2 separate regions of the Homo sapiens genome follow, and region 1 is linked to region 2. The links are contacts of gene promoters, found by promoter capture Hi-C in blood cells and fetal thymus (Javierre and others, 2016). All regions are on one chromosome and are shown on one strand. Each heading gives the region's core, a stretch centred on a gene start or on the middle of the fragment in contact. The rest is flanking DNA. Distances are from core to core; before and after follow the strand shown.

The links. Contacts are between HindIII fragments. The CHiCAGO score rates a contact against its expected background, and 5 or more counts as called.
Region 1: a fragment that was not itself captured here is called in contact with the fragment with the promoter of BTK in region 2 in 2 of 17 cell types (M0 macrophages and M1 macrophages); the score reaches 6.9 in M0 macrophages.

What each region holds. Positions count from the first base shown.
Region 1 is chrX:101,637,657-101,643,678 of GRCh38, reverse strand. No RefSeq gene overlaps it. Among named protein-coding and RNA genes, the nearest start is that of ARMCX3, 18 kb to the right of the region's middle. The HindIII fragment of the contact is 5,736 bases long and covers 1-5,307 here.
Region 2 is chrX:101,384,107-101,389,802 of GRCh38, reverse strand. It overlaps BTK (Bruton tyrosine kinase), which reads left to right and starts at 3,612. Exons shown (of 19, transcript NM_000061.3): 1 at 3,612-3,741. RefSeq lists an enhancer at 4,126-4,345. The HindIII fragment of the contact is 7,609 bases long and covers 1-4,778 here.

The DNA of each region.
Region 1 (6,022 bases), core at 1,190-3,689, 260 kb before region 2:
AAAATCATTTGGTGAGTACCAGCTCTCCCTGCCGTATCATAGTAACAAAAGTAATATGGAAGAGATAAATACATAAATGGAAACGTTTAGAGACAGACTTAAGTAGATACAGAAAAAATAGGCAGCACAAATCAATGGAGAAAGGATGGACGGTATAATACATGTTATTGGAAAGACTAGTTCACTATTTGAAGAAAAATAAAGCTGGAACCCTCCTTAGCACCATGTATAAATCTAGACTACAGAGAATAAAATAAATTTGAAAGCTAAAATTATGAAGTTAATAGATGATGATATAGGAAAAAATCTTTGTGGCCTAGAATTAGATAACAATTTCTTAAACAAAACCTCAGAAGTAGATGCCATAAGACACAAAAGATTAATAGATTTGATTACATAAAAAATAAGAATTTCTATTCAATGAGAGACACCATAAACAAAGTTAATAGATGACAGAGAAAAGTTATTTACAATACCTTTAACAAAGGATTAATAGCTAGCATATACAAAGTACTCCTGCAAATCCAAAAGAAAAAGACAGGAATACACTGCCTTAAAGTGACAAAAGAGGACGGACGGATGAGGTGGCTCCTGCCTGTAATGCCAGTGCTTTGGGAGGCCAAGGCAGAAGGATAGCTTGAGGCCAGGAGTTGAAGACCAGCTTAGGCAACATGGCAAGATCTTGTTTCTACAAAAAAAAAAAAAAAAAAAAAAAAACCTATTTTAAAAAATTAGCTGAATGTGATGGTGCATGCCTCTGGTTCCAGCTACTTGGAGCAGCTAGGCAGAAGAATCGCTTGAGCCCAGGAGGTCAAGACTGCAGTGAGCCATGTTTGTGCCACTGCACTCCAGCCTGGGTGACAGAGTGAGACCCTATCTCAAAAAGTAAAATAAAGTAAAATAAAATAAACTGACAAAACATGACAAATATACCCAGAGGAGATGAAAACCAAAATGCTCAGAAATAAATGAAGAGATGTTCAAACTCATTATTAACCAGTTAATTGCTAATTAAAATTCAGTTATAAATCCGTTTATACCTATTTGGCTGGCAAAAATTTTAAAGCTGGGACCTGCCGATTGTTAGTGAGGGTACAAAGATAGAGGAATTCTAATGCACACAGCTGATTAGAGTTTAGACTGGAGCTGCTATTCCAAAGAGCAATCTGACATACATAAATGAATTATACATATGCCCTATGACTCAACAATTCCATTCATTTTATATATATTCCAGAACACTTTTCATGTAGGTCCATAAGGGGACATGCATGAGGACGTTCATCACAATGTATGAGGTAACAGAAAGTTGGAAGCAGTATAGATTTTATTTCCTGGAAAATGAGGAAGTAAATTGGAGTGGATGAATACCATGGTACATTATGCAACAGTGTGAAACTACAGACCATGTACACAGAGTGACATAGATGGATCTTTAAAAAAATATTACTGAGTGGGGAAAAAAGCCAGAATAAGATCCACAGCACCATACTACTATCTAAATCCATGCATACAAAGTAATGTAAGTTTTAAAATAACTCAAACAAACATACACATCAAATAAATTAGAAGGTTGCCTTTGGGGAGGAGATGGAAGTAAAGAATAGAGAAGAAAGGAAACAAATAAAGTAGTAAATGAATTAATAAAGGAAAGAAAATGGGTTTTGATTAGACCAATGCAGATGGTATGCTACGAAGGGAAGAATATGGTTAGTATAATCCTCATCACCTAAGGTCCAAAAAAAAAGGAAGGACAGAAATCCATTAATGTTGTAGTAGTATAAAAGTCTAAACTGCTGTAATGAAAAACTCAAAAATTGTATGACTTAAAAAATATATTTTCATTACCAAAAGAGTCTGAGGTTAATGTTCCAGGTCAGCAGAGAGGCTCTGCTACACGTGGCCATTCAGGGTCCCAGGCTCATTCCATCTTGTAGCTCCATCCTTCTCTAGGTACTCAAAGTTATCTCCATTCAGCGGGTAGATAGGAAAAGAGAGAGCACAAGTCAAGCATGAGGAAGTTTCATGAGGCAAAATCTGGAACACATCACTCCTGCCACAATCCATTGGCCAGAACTCAGTCTCATGGTTGCACCCAATCATAGGGGACGTTGACCACTATAGCTAGGCCACTATTGACCAATCTAGCTGGATTCCAAGGAGTGGGCAGAAAACATGGATATTGGAGAGCACTAACAGCCTCTACCACAGTTTGCAAGAGCTTTGTTGAGGGAATTATAAAATGTTTTTAAGAGATATTAATCATCCAAAACGCTGATCTCAGTGACTGCTTTTACTAGGCAATGGTTTACAAATGTTTTCAACCTCATTGGTACAGTTCTCAGGGCTAGTTTGATGCCCAAGTTTCTCTCTCCACCCTCGATGTCCACGATCAGTAATGTCTTCCATTTCCCCTGCAACTGTGTCCATCCCCCAAAACGTGAGGGCGGAGAGGCAGGCAGGGATTAGAATTAGAAAATGGACAGCATGTCAGTAACAGAGGCAGGGAATGAACATGAGATTTGTACTTCCTCATATTTTCACTTCCTCATGTACTATTACCGCCTTAAAAAATAAGCATCAGTGGCCAGGCGCGGTGGCTCATGCCTGTAGTCTCAACACTTTGGGAGGCCAAGGCGGGCAGATCACCTGAAGTCAGGAGTTCAAGACCAGCCTGGCTAGCATGGTGAAACTCCACCTCTACTAAAAATATAAAAATTAGCTGGGCGGGGTGGCACACGCCTGTAGTCCCAGCTACTCAGGAGGCTGAGGCAGGAGAATCGCTTGAACCCTGGAGGCGGAGGTTGCCGTAAGCCTAGATCGTGCCAATTCACTCCAGCCTAGGTGACAGAGCGAGAGACTCCATCAAAAAAAAAAAAGCGTCAGTATGCAATCATTTTTACAATCAGAAAAAAAATGAAGTTATGGTCACTGAAAAATTAATGAGGAATTAATCTGGGAAAAATCTATCATAAAAAATATTTCTGGCCAGGTGCGGTAACTCACACCTGTAATCCCAGCACTTTGGAAGGCCAAGGCAGGTGGATCACTTGAGGCCAGGAGTTCGAGAGCAGCCTGGCCCACATGGCGAAACCCTGTCTCTAGTAAATATACAAAAATTATCCGGGGATAGCAGTGCACACCTGTAATCCCAGCTACTCATTAGGCTGAGGCAGGAGAATCGCTTGAACCTAGGAGGTGGAGTTTGCAGTGAGCCAAAATGGCACCACTGTACTCTAGCCTGGGTAAGAGTGAGGGAGACTCAGTCTAAAAAAAAAAAAAAAAAAAAAAAAAAAAAAAAAAAAAGTCCAATTTAAGAGGGAGGAAGTGCCTTAGCACAATTACGTTTTATGAATGTATTGCTTTTCTGCACAAGAAGAGTTTATAAACATGCTAAGGTATTTGATAAGGTGATTGGTAAGGTTTTTGATAAGGTATTTAGAAGGATTAGACTGAATCCTTCTAAACAATGAAATTTAACTCTGAGCAAAGGGAAGAGCTGTGAGATTGATGCTGCAAGGTATGAGGAATGCAGAGATGGTCCTATCCTTTCTGCCCAGTCAAGATAGGGGGAAGGTGCTGCCCCCATCCCCTCTCATATTTCAGAACGTCTCATTTCCTGCATATGGGCACCTGACTCTTGCTCACTCCAAAAATATACCTGGACAGATGACCAAGGTGGTGACCTGAGTAAATGCTTTTGGATCCTTCCCTCCTCCCTCTCCTAAATTTCCACAGGGGTAACCCAGCCCCAGCAGAGAAGGGAGCACTGTTCCTGCCACTGGAAACCAGAACTCATGCCTTCTAGACCCTTGCAGCTGAGGGTGTCCATGAGGCCTGGAGAAGTGATTGCTGGGGGAGTGTCCCTAGCCATCTCCCTGCTCTCTGCCCTTATTCACAGTGTCTGAGTGGAAGCCTCCCTGGACCCTATCTGCTGCCTCCCACCTATCATGAGCAGTGCAGTCTGGTGGGCCTTTCATGCCCAAAATCTGCATCTCCAGGGAATCTAGGGAACCTAGCTTTGCTGCCTTTCAGTCACCTTCCTCCCTAGTGGCCCTTCAGCCAGGCTAAGGACAGTGTCCAAGAAACTCTCACCTACTGACCATACTGATTAACCTAGACCAGGTGTTCTCAACTGGATAAGTCTATAAACTCCTGGAAATTGTATACAAGGTTGTGTATTGGGAGTGAGGGGAAGGTGCATATAAGTTTTCCAGGTGAGCGGCTATAAGCTATAATTATTAACATGTTTTTAATGGGAAGTATAACCCTAAATATATTAAAAACCACTGGCCCAGAAGGTCTATGTTTATATTTGTTCTAAATAGGATGATTTTCATTTTTTAATAGTAAAACTAATATAGTCATTGTAAAAATGTCAAACAACGCAGAAATGTATTGTATTCATTCATTCACTTAATAAGTCTCTATTGAGCACCTATGCAAGGCATTGAGAATACAATGGTAGGAAAAACAGACTAGGTCTTTGTATTCATGAAGCTCACAGATTAGTGGGGTATATACATTAATCAAATAATCACATGAGTGTATGGATAATTATAATTCCACATAAATACAAAGAAGGAATGGAACACAGGTATGTATATGAGTATATTGCTGCAGATCAAGACATACTCTGAGGGGCTAAAAAGGGAACAAAGAAAACTTCCCTAAGGAAGTAAAATTTGAGAGGAAATAAGGAAAAGTATAATTACTAGGCAAAGAGGATAATATAAATGTCTGGTAATCATACATCCTGCAGAATGCCATAGCTAACACATATGTGTAATTGGAATAAATCACAGTCCACAAACCCAAGTGTATAAAACATCCAGCTTTTATTTTCTATAGCAATACTCATAATTTATATTTTGTCTTCTCATCCCATTGTTGTGCTGAAATGGAATCAATTTAGGATCTGCTGCATTTTCCGTGGTGTGTCTAAGATCAAAGATGCTTACAAAGCACCTTAGAGTTGTTGGAGGAGGTCCACATGATTCTAGTAATACTGCTCTACATAATTCACCATTTTCATTCCTTCCTCAGGACCTCTTCAAATATTGTAGCTCTCTATTTTGCTTGTGTCGACCTTGAATGATCAAGACTTTCTGTGTTGCTTCCCTGCCTTTGCTATGCTGAGATACAGAAAACTTCGTTAGACTCTATACTATATGTCTGGAAGCAATGTAAAGCAGCAATGCTTCAGGTATCTCTTAACAGGTATGACATGTCACCTACACAATTTAATCCAACAAAACTGTCCAGCGAACTTCCAGTCAACAGCAGACTGAAGTGAGTTGGAAAGCTTCCCCCTTCCCACTCGAAACTCACAGATGTGATAGAATGCTAAAAACAGTAAATAGTCAAGTTCATCATCATGAAATGGAAATCTCCAAGAAACAAAGAAGGAGCTAGCAAGGAGCGGGAGATAAAGACAGACGGCTATCGGCTTTAAGATCTAGAGACCAGGATTTAATCCCACATAGGGACAGAAAACAATGCCTCTAGGCAGTGGAAGATGGGAAGCTGGTACTGAGCTCCAATCTAAATCTAGGCCCCACAGAAACACAACCAGTACATGAAATGATAACTAGAAAACTTTATCCCACAGCAAAGATACATGAGAAGAAAGCTCATCTTTTATGTGAGGTCATGGGTGGATACAGAGCCCCCTGGGAGCAATCAAAATCCAGGCCAGCTCCATTCATAGGCCGAATTCATAATCTGTACATGTGAGAGAATTCAAGGGACATACACTAATATAAAAATTAATCTGGAACTGGTGAAACTTTTATAGCCTTAGCAGAGACAAAGGCAAGGAGAAAATTAGGACATTCAAATATAGATCTCAATAAATCACCCAGAATGCAGCACACAAAGATAAAACAGTACAAAATATGAGAAGCTAGAAGACATGGCAGAAAAAGGGAAAGTTTCAAAATATACCTAGAACGAAGTCCATAAAGAGAGTCTAGAGAGAATGAGGAAGGGACAATATTTGAAGAGATAGTGGCGTGAATTT
Region 2 (5,696 bases), core at 2,363-4,862:
GTCACACAGGTTGTTATTTTTTTGTGGAGCTGGAATTTGATCCTAGGTAGTCTAACACTATAGCCTTGCACTTAACCACTACATCATACAAAGGAAGCAGGGGCATCTGCAGTGTAGAGGATGGTGAGGAGACAGAATTGGGCTGAGACACAGGAGGAGGTGGCAGTGGAATAGGGGCTGAAGAACCGTGAGAGTCTGGGGTATCTTGCTTGCACAACCCTCCAGGAACACGCGTGGGACCTGAGCTGACACTCTGATCACCCCCTTTTTTGTTGGGTGGTCTCTGGGAATGAGATAATAAATATATTACCACTACCTGCTACATTTCCTGAAAATTTCTTTGCCAAACTTCCAGCATTTTCTTTTTCTTTCCAGATTCTTAAGCAATCTCACTGGCCTTTAGGGGTTTATGTTAGTAACATGGAAATATGAAGACCGTGAACATGGCCCCTCTTCATTTAATCAACCTTAGTTCTTTCTATCATATCTGGTGTTATGTGGCTTTGTGGGGGTTTTGCTTGTTTTTGTTTACTTAAAAATATTTAATTGACAAAAATTGTTTATATTCAAGGTGTACAACATGATGATTTGATATGTGTATACACTGTGTAATGATTACCACAGTCAAATTGATTAACACATCTATCATCCATCACCATCCATAGTTACCATGGGGGTGGTGAGGACACTTAAAATCTGCTCTCTTATCAAATTTCAATAATACAGTATTATTAACTATGGTCACTATATTGCACATTAGATCCCCAGAGCTTATACATCCTATAAGTGAAAGTTTGTACACCAATGCTGACACCGAGGTGGGAGGATCGCTTGAGCTGTTCTCTGTTTTGGACATGCTCCTGCTCATTAATTTCCCCTAAGACGAGGCACTCAGAACTGAATGCAGGACTCTAGGTGTGGTCTGGCTTTGCAGAGTAAGTGGCATGTTACCTTCCTCTGTCTAGATATTTTACTTCCATAAGGAAGCCTCAATGTCACCTTGGCTTTTCTGGAAGCCATGTTAACTGATGACATGCCTTTTGATTACTATCAGCAAAAACCCCTGAACCATTTTCACAAATGCTACTGCTACTCCACTTTCTCCTGGAGTCATTTGAAGTTCAAATTTGGGGCCCAATTATGAGACATCACCTTTAGCCCTGGTAAAATACACTTTGTGGAATTTGGCTTCTCACACCAGGTGATCAAGATCTTTTTGGGAACTAATTGCCCTCTTCTGTCATCCAGTCTAGCACACAAAGCCTTGCACCATTCATAGACTAACCGGGCTACTTTTTATATTTTCCTCAAAGATGATCAATAAAAATGCTGAACAGGATAGCACCAAGAATAGAACCTTATATTGCATTGGGAATCTCTTCAGGTGACACTCAGCTGTTTATTTGCACTATCTGAGTACAGTCTTTCTGTCAGTATGGATGAGTGTGCTAGGGGAGTGGTCGTGGGCAGAGGGTGAAGAAAAGCCTACGTCTACTTGCTCTTTTCCCTTGTGCTCCTCTCTCTCTCTTGTTTAGCTCTCCCATTGGATGCCTATCACCTCCCAGTCCCCACCCCAAGATGGATCTTGAGAAAGGACAGGGCATGTGACAACAAGTGGCATAAGACTGAAGAAAAGAGCCTGGGCACGGTGGCTCACGCATGTAATCCCAGCACTTTGGGAAGCTGAGGCGGGTGGATCACGAGGTCAGGAGATCGAGACCATCCTGGCTAACATGGTGAAACCCCGTCTCTACTAAAAATACAAAAAATTAGCCAGGCGTGGTGGCAGGCACCTGTAGTCCCAACTACTCAGGAGACTGAGGCAGGACAATGGCGTGAACCCGGGAGGTGGAGCTTGCAGTGAGCCGAGATCATGCCACTGCACTCCAGCCTGGGCGACAGGGCAAGACTCCGTCTCAAAAAAAAAAAAAACTGAAGAAAAGAGGAGGGAAGATGAATGCCTGTGGCCAACCCTCAGGCAGGTGAGTGGAACAGCTATTGGGGGTGACTAGCGAAAGGATAGACGTTGTCAATAAAGTAAGGCAATCATACAACACATGCTGTCCATCTGTCTTGTGCAAATGTGAGTATCAACCACTCTATCATCAGTCTACAAATACTTTAAATGTTTTTATTTAAAGTCCTGTTGATGGCTGGGAGAGGTGGCTCACTCCTGTAATCCCTGCATTTTGGGAGGCCAAGGCAGGAGTATCGCTTGAGCCCAGGAGTTTGAGACCAGCCTGGGCAACATAGTGAAACCCCATCTCTACAAAAAGTAGAAAAATTAGCCCAGCACAGTGATGTGTGCCTATAGTCCCAGGTACTAGGGTGACTGAGGTGAGAGGATCACTTGAGCCCAGGAGGTGGAGGCTGCAGTGAGCCATGATCACGCCACTGCACTCCAACCTGGGCTTCAGAGCAAGACCCTGTCTCAAAAAAAAAAAAAAAAAAAAAAGGTCCCAGGGCCTGTTGGGGCTTGGGGGTGAGGGGAGGGATCTTAGAGGATGGGTCAATAGGTGCAGCAAATCACCATGTCACACATATACCTATGTAACAAACTTGCACCTTCTGCACATATACCCCATTTTTTTTGTTTGCTTGTTTGTTTGTTTTTTAGACAAAATAAAGAAAAAAAAATAAGGTCCTGTTGACTTAAAACTTCGGATGAAATTGTAGTGGGACCTGTGATCTGTTTCTACATTAGGATACAGTGCCTTGGGGCAAGGAAATATGGCAGTGCCCGAGGTGTCAAGGTGGGCAGGCAGATCAGTCAGCAGGGGCTCCACCATCATGGTCTGCATTCAATACTGGCTGCATTTCCTAGGAGAATCCCTGGGGGAATCATTGCAGTTGGAGCATAATGTAGGGGGCCCCTGAGAAAACCTCCAGGCTTCAAGTGACATACCTAGTCTGCTTTACCGGTTTACAGGACTCAAGAGAAAGGTGGACATTGAGAGTTAATCCCTGAGGCCAAATCTTAAATGGAGAAAGTCAACATCCACAGAAAATGGGGAAGGGCACAAGTATTTCTGTGGGCTTATATTCCGACATTTTTATCTGTAGGGGAAAAATGCTTTCTTAGAAAATGACTCAGCACGGGGAAGTCTTGTCTCTACCTCTGTCTTGTTTTGTCCTTTGGGGTCCCTTCACTATCAAGTTCAACTGTGTGTCCCTGAGACTCCTCTGCCCCGGAGGACAGGAGACTCGAAAAACGCTCTTCCTGGCCAGTCTCTTTGCTCTGTGTCTGCCAGCCCCCAGCATCTCTCCTCTTTCCTGTAAGCCCCTCTCCCTGTGCTGACTGTCTTCATAGTACTTTAGGTATGTTGTCCCTTTACCTCTGGGAGGATAGCTTGATGACCTGTCTGCTCAGGCCAGCCCCATCTAGAGTCTCAGTGGCCCCAGTCATGTTGAGAAAGGTTCTTTCAAAGATAGACTCAAGATAGTAGTGTCAGAGGTCCCAAGCAAATGAAGGGCGGGGACAGTTGAGGGGGTGGAATAGGGACGGCAGCAGGGAACCAGATAGCATGCTGCTGAGAAGAAAAAAAGACATTGGTTTAGGTCAGGAAGCAAAAAAAGGGAACTGAGTGGCTGTGAAAGGGTGGGGTTTGCTCAGACTGTCCTTCCTCTCTGGACTGTAAGAATATGTCTCCAGGGCCAGTGTCTGCTGCGATCGAGTCCCACCTTCCAAGTCCTGGCATCTCAATGCATCTGGGAAGCTACCTGCATTAAGTCAGGACTGAGGTGGGTCTGGGGTATGGCAGGGGCTGGGCAGCAGCAGCAATGTACCTTGCTTGGGACCCCTAAAAACCAGAGAGACAGCATGGCTGGTGCCATTTATCAGCTAGTGGAGGAGGCTGACGGAGGGTGGGAGTGTCATCAGCACAAGGCCCTGGCAGTCCCTTCTGGTGATTAGAGAGGCCGAAAGGGTCCTTTCCGACAAGGGCTGAGGGTGGGCGGAACAGGAAGAGAAAAATGTGACATGAGGTGACCATCCGAACAGGTAGCAAATGTTAGAAAGGGGTACCTCTGGCAAACTTAGTGGAAAAGTAATATTGCAGGGAGCAGTCAGATAAAAACAAGCCCTTCTGTCAAATAGTGCTTGAAGACTCAATAGGGATACATGGGTCAATGAAGCCTTTAGAAAAAGAAATACTAAGAGGCAGATTCTCTGAGAACATGGTAAAAGCTCACGCTCCACGTTATGAAGTTGACCTTTGTGAGCTAGGGAAAGGCCTGGCTAGGCCAGGGTGTAGGCTACCTGCCTTGAGCTGTACCAGGCCAAATGTCGCCAGGGTCAGAGCTGGCTTATTAAAGGACTGTGTGGAAGCTGTGCCAACCTCGTGGTAACAATGGGTAAAAGACTGGGCCAGGAGAAAGCAGCCTCTGCCTCAGCCCAGACAGTGCGGCCAACCCTTGAGGTTGTGGCAAAGGTTTCTCCTCTTACCATTGCCCTCCATGTGCATGGCTTGCTTTTCTCTTGTCTTCATTATTTCTCCTTTCCTTTCCTCCTCTCCAACCTCCTCCTCTTCCCACTCATCCTCTTTTCTCTACCTATATCCCCTCTTCATTATACCCTCCTCTGTTCTGTTGATTACCAGACCCTGACATACAGTTAGCACTTAACAAATAATTGCCGAATTGCATTGACTTTTTCTTGCTCCTTTCTTCCCCCGCTCTTTTCCCTTTTCCTTTCCCTTTCCATTTCCTCCTCCCTGCCTGCCTAGCACCTTCCCCATAAGGTGGTTGTGAGCAGTAAATGTGCAAATACATGTAAAGCTTTTAAAACAGGGCCTGGCAATAGTAAGTGCTGGATCTCAGTATTTGCTATAATTTTTACTCTGCCTCAGACCTGCCAATGTCCCCCAGAGGGCCTACCTAGAGCAAATAATATGACATTTAGAATAAAAGTGATTGGTGACCCCAATCAAGACATCCTTGGATAAGTTGCCCAGACTCCAGCCTCTCTGGAGCCTCAGTTATTTGATAAAATAATGTCACTTTCCAAATAAGCCACAAAATGCAAATACTCATGGCAACCTAAAGCATTATACCCAAACAGTGTCCCTTAGGGCTTGTCCTGTCTATTCTGACTCCTTTTATATTCAAACTATTTAAACTGCTTGCTTGTGTTGAAGTCCAAATTTCCATTGCGTATGGCTATTGATATTTTTGTTTGGAATTTTTTTTTTTTTTTTTTGACACGGAGTTTCACTCTTGCTGCCCAGGCTGGAGTGCAATGGCACGATCTCGGGATCTCAGCTCACCGCAACCTCCGCCTCCCGGGTTCAAACAATTCTCCTGCCTCAGCCTCCCAAGTAGCTGGGATTACAGGCATGTGCCACCACGCCCAGCTAATTTTGTATTTCTAGTAGAGACGGGGTTTCTCCATGTTGGTCAGGCTGGTCTCGAACTCCCAACCTCAGGTGATCTGCCTGCTTGGGCCTCCCAAAGTGCTAGGATTACAGGCGTGAGCCACCGCACCCACCCTGGAATTCTTTGTAAACTCCTTATGGTGCGAACTAATGTAACTTTCCATCCAGTTATGGGGGATTGGTGCAATTTTAAATTATCACTATGATTTGCTATTTCCATTTGAGCAAATTTCCTATAGAGTTTCCTTTCAGTGGACTAGACCCATATCAGGAAGTGACTTAGGTATAAAGGGAAGATACAGCTTTCGAAAACCAAAGTTTGGG